Regions from separate parts of the Homo sapiens genome. Here region 1 is linked to region 2. Evidence: promoter capture Hi-C in human tissues and cell types (Jung and others, 2019). All regions are on one chromosome and are shown on one strand. Each heading gives the region's core, a stretch centred on a gene start or on the middle of the fragment in contact. The rest is flanking DNA. Distances are from core to core; before and after follow the strand shown.

Evidence for each region. Contacts are between HindIII fragments. The study calls those that stand out against the background at their distance.
Region 1: a contact is called between the fragment with the promoter of USP29 here and the fragment with the promoter of ZNF776 in region 2, in 1 of the 25 tissues and cell types used here (aorta).

Annotation. Positions count from the first base shown.
Region 1 is chr19:57,117,397-57,121,470 of GRCh38, forward strand. USP29 (ubiquitin specific peptidase 29) reads left to right here and starts at 2,589. Exons shown (of 4, transcript NM_020903.3): 1 at 2,589-2,833. The HindIII fragment of the contact is 14,839 bases long and covers 1-4,074 here.
Region 2 is chr19:57,745,423-57,749,849 of GRCh38, forward strand. ZNF776 (zinc finger protein 776) reads left to right here and starts at 1,393. Exons shown (of 3, transcript NM_173632.4): 1 at 1,393-1,669. The coding sequence starts at 1,637. RefSeq lists an enhancer at 1,405-1,454. The HindIII fragment of the contact is 15,716 bases long and covers 1-4,427 here.

The DNA of each region.
Region 1 (4,074 bases), core at 1,339-3,838, 630 kb before region 2:
AACCCCGTCTCTACTAAAAATACAAAAATTAGCCAGGCGTGGTGGTGGGCACCTGTAATCCCAGCTACTAGAGAGGCTGAGGCAGGAGAATCAATTGAACCCAGGAGGTGGAGGTTGCAGTGAGCCTAGATCCCCGCCATTGCAAGTCAGCCTGGGCAACAAGAGCAAAACTCCATCTCAAAAACAAACAAAAAAAAAAGTAATGCAAACTCATCTGGGTTTTGGTCATGTCCTGCATCTCCTGAGGAAGGGCAGAGGGCTGAGGAGCAGTCCTTGGGAAGCACAAACATGTGAGAATCCAGGTTGGCTCTATGCCCTACCCAGTAACGTAGCCCCAAATCTCTGCCTTAGCTGACATGGGGGCACACTGAAGTCTTGTGAAGGGTAGAAGGGACCATGTTGAGGCAGGGACAACCTTGCCTACAGGTGATTCAGGTAATCCCACAAGTTCAGCCACAGAAAACAAGCATGACCATGTGCAAAGACTTCCACGAGACCACTTGTCACAGGGTTGTTTTAATTCAAGCAACATCAACATACACCAGAAACTTGTGAAGAAAATTATGGCACATTTGTATAACTTCAGTGTCAAGAAGCCAGCGGTATTTTGCAGATAATGCAAGGTCTGTAGATCGAAAATTAAGTTGGGTGTCTTCCTTTAGTGTACAAACACCTTGGATGTTTGAGGAAATCCAAAGACAAGGTTCTAGGCATTTTATACGTGTTAACTCATGTATTATGTTAATTCTCACAATAATCCTTTGGAACTAGTACGATCACCATCCCTGCCTTATTGAGGAGGAAATGGGGTACAGAGAGCTTAAGCAACTTGCCAGTGTCATGCAGCAGGGAAGCGCTGGAGGCAGGGCTCCAACCCACGCAGCCTTGCTGCATGTTTGTGGAATGAACACAGGACTCAGGCACACAACCATCTGGCTGAGGCTCCATGAGCAGCCAGGAGCCTGGTCCCAATGCAGTCTCCTTATAGGCACAAATGGGGTGCCCCTTGAGACAGGAATAATAAAGGTGGTCACAGGAGAACGGAAAATTCCAGGCAACAGTTTCACATGACTAGCAAAGGAAACCGTTGAAATCGCTGCGTAAGCTAGGGGCGGATAAGACTCTGAAAACCAGGGTGTGGGCCAAGCTGGCTAAAGCCGACTGGACCCAACATGGTGCTGGATTCGACCCGTTTCACCTAGGACCTCTCATTATGTGCTCATTAACATACTAAGTCACACACCCACTGTGACAGCTCTGGGGAACACCCGTATTTAGTATAAAAATGTGTGGCACCGCAGTACCAAGAAATGTTTACCTTTTTCCAAGAATCTTCATGAATATTCCACCCCTTGGTTAAATAAATATTTAAAGGTAGCTCCAAACCCCGCTGGGCGTGATGCTCTGTGGTATGCCTGCACTTTTCTTTCTTCAGTACGTACTTATTCCCGTCGCAATGAATCTCCACACTTTGTTCTGCTCATCCATGAATTCCTTCTCACGACAGTGTCAAGAGCCTGGACACCAGTCAGGGTCGAGGCCTCACCAGCATCTTGGGGCCTCACTGGGCACAGACGCGTGAGCGCCCGGCCTGCAGACCTGACTCTGGCAGCCGCTCAGGCCCTCAGAGGGAGAGATGGAAGCTGGCAGGACGCAGTTGCTACCGCGCGGACCCGGCCCCCGACCAGCCTTGGCCCCTCGCGCGCCGGGACAGGGCCACAAATGACTGCACCTGGGCTTCGCTGGCCCAGGCACCACGCGACTCTAAGCGCGCCCAAAGCGACCCTCTGCGCAAACTACCCCCGGGGACGACGTCACCCGTGAGGTCCCGCGGCGCCTCCTCCTAAAGCTCGGCTGGGAAACCGTCCGCTTCCCCAAGACTTGGGGGCTTGTGGCCGAGTTGTTTTAGTTTTCCTGTAGGATTCACGGGTGGCTGAGGCAAACACGCTTGAAGGCCTAAGACTTTTAAGTCTCTTCCGCACCCTCTCTTCTGTCTCTTCCACCTGGAGGATGACCGCTTTTTTGGGGGTTTTGTTGTTGTTTTGAGACGGAGTCTCGCTCTGTCGCCCAGGCTGGATTGTAGTGGCGCCATCTCCGCTCACTGCAACCTCCGCCTCCCGGGTTCAAGCGATTCTCCTGCCTCAGCCTCCCGAGTAGCTGGGATTACAGGCGCCCACCACCATGCCCGGCTGATTTTTGTATTTTTAGTAGAGACGGGGTTTCGCCACGTTGGTCAGGCTAATATCAAACTCCTGACCTCAGGTGATCCGCCCTCCTCGGCCTCCCAAAGTGCTGGGATGACAGGCGTGAGCCACCGCGCCCGGCCGGGATGACTGTTATTAACAATTCCCGGCGTGGTTTCTAGCACCAGCCCACCTACCACACCCCACCTCGCTTGAGGCTGAATGGGTAACAGGATGAACCCGCCCCTGGGCTGGTTTTCTCTGAACCCTAACTCCTGCCGTTACGCCCCACCAGCTCTAGGCCAGGAACTCTATGTGCCCCGGCCACGCTAGAGCCCGTACCTAGACCCGTAGGTCGGGAGGCCTGCGCCCGGCACTGCGCAGACGCAGCGTGCTGTGCCCAGAACTCTTCTGTTCCCAGGAGAATCAGGGGAGTCGGCGCCGGAAGGGGCGGGTCCGAGCTGAGATTTCCAGAGCCATGGGAGCCGGAAGTCCAAGGAACTGTACCTCCATCATGACGACTCCGGTTACGTAAAAACATTCAAACAGAAAATGCTGGCCAGGCTCATGCCTGTAATCCCAGCACTTTGGGAGGCCGAGGCGGGAGGATCGCTTGTGCCCAGGAGTTGGAGACCAGCCTGGGCAACATAGTGAGACCCTCCCCCCACCCATCTCTACAAAAAATTTTAAAATTAGCTAGCTGAGATCATGCCACTGCACTCCAGCCTGGACAACAAAGTGAGACTATGTCTCAAAAAAATTTAAAAATTACCCACGCCTGTAGTGTCAGATAGTCAGGAGGCAGAGGTTGGAGGATGACTTGAGCCTTGGGGATCGAGGGTGTAGTGAGGTATGATCGCACCACTGCACTCCAGCCTGGGCAACAGAGCAAGACCCTGTCTCAAAAACTATATAAAAGAAAAAAGGGCTGGGTCGGTGGCTCACGCCTGTCATGCCAGCACTTTGGGAGGCCGAGGCGGGTAGATCACCTGAGGTCAGGAGTTTGAGACCAGCCTGACCAACAAGGTGAAACCCTGTCTCTACTAAAAATACAAAAATTAGCTGGCCATGATGGTGGGTGCCTGTAATCCCAGCTACTGGGGAGGCTGAGGCAGGAGAATCACTTGAACCCCAGAGGTGGAGGTTGCAGTGAGCCGAGATCACACCACTGCACTCCAGCCTGGGCGACAGAGCGAGAGACTCCGTCTCAAAAAAAAAAAAAAAAAAAAAAAAACAGAAAAAAGGCCGGGCACGGTGGCTCACTCCTGTAATTCCAGAACTTTGGGAGGCCAAGGCGGGCGGATCAGGAGTTCGAGACTGCCTGGGCAACATAGCGAAACCCCGTCTCTACTAAAAATACAAAAAATTAGCCAGGCGTGGTGGCGGGCTCCTGTAATCCCAGCTACTCAGGAGGCTTAGGCAGGAGAATCACTTGAACCCAGGAAGCAGAGGCTGCAGTGAGCCGAGATCACGCCATTAAACTCCAGCCTCGGTGACAGAGTGAGACTCCATCCCCGCTCCGCTCCCTCACCTCCCGCCAAAAAAAAAAAAGAAAATGCACTGCAATAGAAAAATAAAAGTACTACACTTTGGTCAAACAGGGTAACTACTAGAACGTAAAATGATCTTTTTGAAACTATCCACATTTGTTACACGTGTTGAAAATGTAGGATATATATGTTATATATATACTTATATATGTTATATATACTTATATATGTTATATACTTATATATGTTATGTACTTATATATTATATATACTTATATATGTTATATCTACTTATGTTATATACTTATATATGTTATATATACTTATATATGTTATACATACTTATATGTTATATATACTTATGTTATATACTTATATATGTTATATATACTTATACATGT
Region 2 (4,427 bases), core at 143-2,642:
GGTACAGTGGCTCATGCCTTTAATCCCAGCACTTTGGGAGGCCGAGACAGGTGGATCACCTGAGGTTGAGAGTTCGAGACCAGCCTGACCAACATGGAGAAACCCCGTCTCTACTAAAAATACAAAATTAGCCAGGTATGGTGGCTCATGCCTGTAATCCCATCCATAACATTAATTTATTAGGCAAAACACTCCTTGCCATGGAAACAGAAATAAAGAATAGTCACAAAAAAAAAAAAAGAAAAGAAATAAATAAAGTCTGTTTTATCTAATACAAAAAAAAAAAAATAGCCACTTCCCAGCAATAACATGAACTCCTGGATTTAAGACACAACCAATATCAACAGGTGGAGAGCATCTTCTGCATACGTGCCCCACCTTTGAAAACTGCAGCCATTTATCACTACCAAAATAGCATTTCTTTCATTGGTCTTCCTGTAAGATTGATAAATCTTAGATAAATTAATCCAGAATTAATTGAATATAAGTTGGAATCTCAAGCGAGGGATACTAAGTGGATAAAAGTGTTGCTCAATGTACTGGACACTATGATTGATTTTATAGGCAGGAGAGTTGTCTTCTGTGGGAATCACAGACAGAGATTCAGCATGTATTCCTGCTTTAGGGAACACAACATTTCTCCTCTATCTTCCTTGTCTTGTCCTATCTGGATTAGTTCTCTCTTGTCCCTGACAGACTGAGAAACTGACTCTAATGCCTCAGAGTGCATTCATGTGAATTTATAACACAATAATGTTTATCAGCCTCTGCTGCCAGTACCGGGATTTTGCGACTGAAAGACTGTTCAAAACGTTATGATAATTTGGATTTTTAGTCTTTGGGGGCATCCTAAATAATAAGTTTAGCATCGGAGAGCTCGAGTTCCCCAAAATCTAAAATAATATTTTTTCAAATACTTGAGTGATCAGTTACAGACACTAATCTCCAAAAATCTCAATACGGGTTCTAAGGCTAGGTGAGACTATCCTCTACCCTAGAAGGACATGCACTTTAAGGACAGGCCGCTGAGATGGAGCTGGGCCTTTCCTGCAAGTAAGTGAACGTGATGGTAGGGTATACCTGACAGCATAGTTTGACAGGGGATATAGACTTTCAAGGAGAAAATAGACATGAAATAGATACATGCAGAAGTATAGTCAAATTGAGGGAAGATGACACTTAGGCCAGAGTAGTGTTTATTCACCACTCTGTGCAATCAAGCGCCTCTGAGAAGGCCTTCTTTACCGCCTTGGAACTGTCTTGGAACCTGAGGAAACTACATAACCCAGAAATCTCTGCGTCGAATGACAGCGCGTCAGAGCCAATGAGGGCTCAAAATAAAGGCGTTTCCGCGGAAACAGTATAAAGGTGGGACTTCCGGCGTCCTCTACTAGTGGCCATTTTGATTGGTGTTGGGTGTATTTTCCAGTGAGAGACCGCGGAGTGTTGGGTCGTGTAGAAGTGACTGAACCCAGAAGGTGGAGACGAGACGTTGTCCCGACTGCACAGAGGCTGCTCTGCAGCTCCTTAAAGGCGCTAGGCGTGACCCGCACCAAGGCCGGGATCGGGACCACCGTGCCCGGGTACCTGCACTGCTCGCCCCCTCCTTTCGACCCCGCTTTCCCCACCCAGTCGGATGGCGGCGGCCGCGCTGAGGCCCCCGGCTCAGGTAATTGTGGCGTCTTCCGTGCCCTCAGGTCACCTCATCTTTACCTAAGTCCAAAAGCAGAGAGGAAGCGGCGCCTGCTCAAGGTTTTACACCCTGAACCCGGCGTCGGGACACTGAGGCGCTCTCTATGGGCCCCCGTTTTTGACACCCGCGGGATGCGCTCAGGAGAGCTACAGGCACAGGGAGCGGTGCAGGCAAAGGCCTGGAGATGAACTGAGCCGAGAGGATCGTAACCTAGGGTCCACAGGCACCTGTCGGGAGCAAAGTGTGAGGCAGAGCTCCTCCTGGAAGAGCAGGCTGAGGACCGTGTATTCACCCTGAGAACGCTGGAAGCCATGGACAGCTTCCAACAAAGGAAGGAAAAGATCAATGTCCAGGCTTTAAAGGTTTCCCAAAGTCCAGTCGAAAAAGAACACAGGGGATGACTTTTGGGCCCTGGGAGGTTGAATTCTTGTTCAACCTCTACAGATCAGATAGGTGCTAAGAGATGACATTTTGTACTGAGGCGCTCAGTTCAGACAACCAACTCGCGTTTACCTAGTTACAGGGCCAAGAAAGAGTTCAGGGAGGCCTGAGCTTATCAAATCTCATCAGGGATACATTCTTGTAGCTTGTGCCTCTCCTCTCAGGAACTCCTGGCTGCAGAAGCACTTGCAGAACCTCCGCAGGGAAGCGGAGGGTGTTATTCCCTCACTGGCCCTAACTCCTATCCACATGCTCTTTAGATTGGGATGTCCTGGGATTCTTAGGTACCTTTTTTTTTTTTTTTTTAAGTTTTTTGATATGGGAACCCTGGAGGAACCTTAAACCCAGGATCCAAAGTCTGTGACACAGGATATATGGAGGTATTCCCATTTCTGTCAACCAGTATAAACATACTTGGAAGGTTAACCCAGGAGTTAGTACCAGGATGTGAAATGCTTAGAGGTGAAACTGACCAGAGGGAGGAGGTGATGTTGCCACAGTTTCATCTGGCTGTAGTCTCCTCTGGCTGTACAGTGGAGAACAGACTGTGGGGTTGAGAGAGGAGGAAATAAGATGAGAGTTGAGGCTTTTGCCGTAATCCAAGTGAGGGTTAACAGACTAAGATTCATGGCTAAGGAGATGTGGCTGGATTCAAAGTTGATATTTTGTTACAGCATCTAGGTTTCCTAATACACAAAGTAAGGGCATGAAGAGAGCAATCAGGATCCCGAGGTTTTTGGTCTTAGTAGCTGTAGCTATGGAAGCTGCATCAGCTGAGATGAGCATGTTGGTAATAAACATAATTAGAATATTATGCAAATATCAGGATGACTGTTATGGCCATATGAAGAGTCAGAGACGAATAAGTGTAGGCATCAAATGGCTATGGACATGCAGGTTGGGGTATCTGGAAAGGGATTGACACTGGAGACATCTAATATATGGTAGCTAATGTGTATGCTATGGTGAGTGAGCCATGGGTCACATTAAGGAGAACACACTTCAGATTCTGGTGGTAAATCTTTTAGGGGACCAGAAAGCAGTGGTTGAATGATGAGGACTGCATCTGTTGCTTGGGTCCCTGGGTAATGTTACTGGGCTTCCTAAACACTGGAGAGGTAGGTAAGTGACCATGATGGTAGGGTATACCTGTCAGCATAATTTGACAGGGGACATAGACTTTCAAGGAGAGAATAGACATGAAATAGATATATGCAGAAGTGTAGTCAAATTGAGGGAAGATGACACTTAGGCCAGAGTGGTACTTATTCACCACTCTGTGCAATCAAGATTTGAGATGACTTTGGTAGTGTGTGGGGGGTTTCATTACACGTGCTGAATATGCTCAGGGAGAAATATGGTCATCTGTGACAGTAGGTCTTGGGCCTTAAATGGATTAAAAACAGGACTTTTTTTTTTTTTGAGACGGTGTCTCACTCTGTCGCCCAGGCTGGTGTACTGGTGTATAGTGGCGCAATCTTGGCTCATTACAACCTCCACCTCCCAGGTTCAAGTGATTCTCCTGCCTCAGCCTCCCGGTAGCTGAGAATACAGTTGCGTGCCACCACGCCCCACTAATTTTTTTTTGTATTTTTAGTAGAGATGTGATTTCACCATATTGGCCAGGCTGGTCTCGAACTCCTGACCTCATGATCCACCTGCCTCAGCCTCCCAAAGTGCTAGGATTACAGGTGTGAACCACCATGCCCATCCAGGACTGCTCTTTAAATGGCAATGGTATTAGGTGAATGGAAGTTGGTCCGTGTTGCTGAAGGGTAAGCCATTGTAGCACAGAAGTGGAATAAGACCATGGATATCTGAAGTTACATGTGGTTTTGCATGGATGTGGAGTAATGCAAGGAGGCATTCATAGAATTATTAGGGACTACCACTGCTAATGGGAACCATGGTCATTTTGTGTTATTATTGGATCCTGTTTGAATATGTGAAGCATATTGGATGCTGTCAGCCATATTGTGGTATAAAGCCAAAAATGGAGGCCCAATATGATGTGTCACCTTGACATCTAGTGATATTGGTATGACCTCAAATGACCTGAGAACCAATTCCCTTCCCACTAGGCTCTTTTAGATAATAATCAGCATGGCCTAATAATCCTTTTATTAGGGAGACCAGGCAGAATTCCTGGTTATTATACTTTGTAGTGAGTTTCAATTTTATCCTTACCCACAGTGTTATTCAAACAAGCCAGTTGCATCCTCCTAAGGGATTCGGGGGTCATCACACCCTCTTCATTTTAAAAGCTTGCATATCATAGTTTCTGGTTATGCAC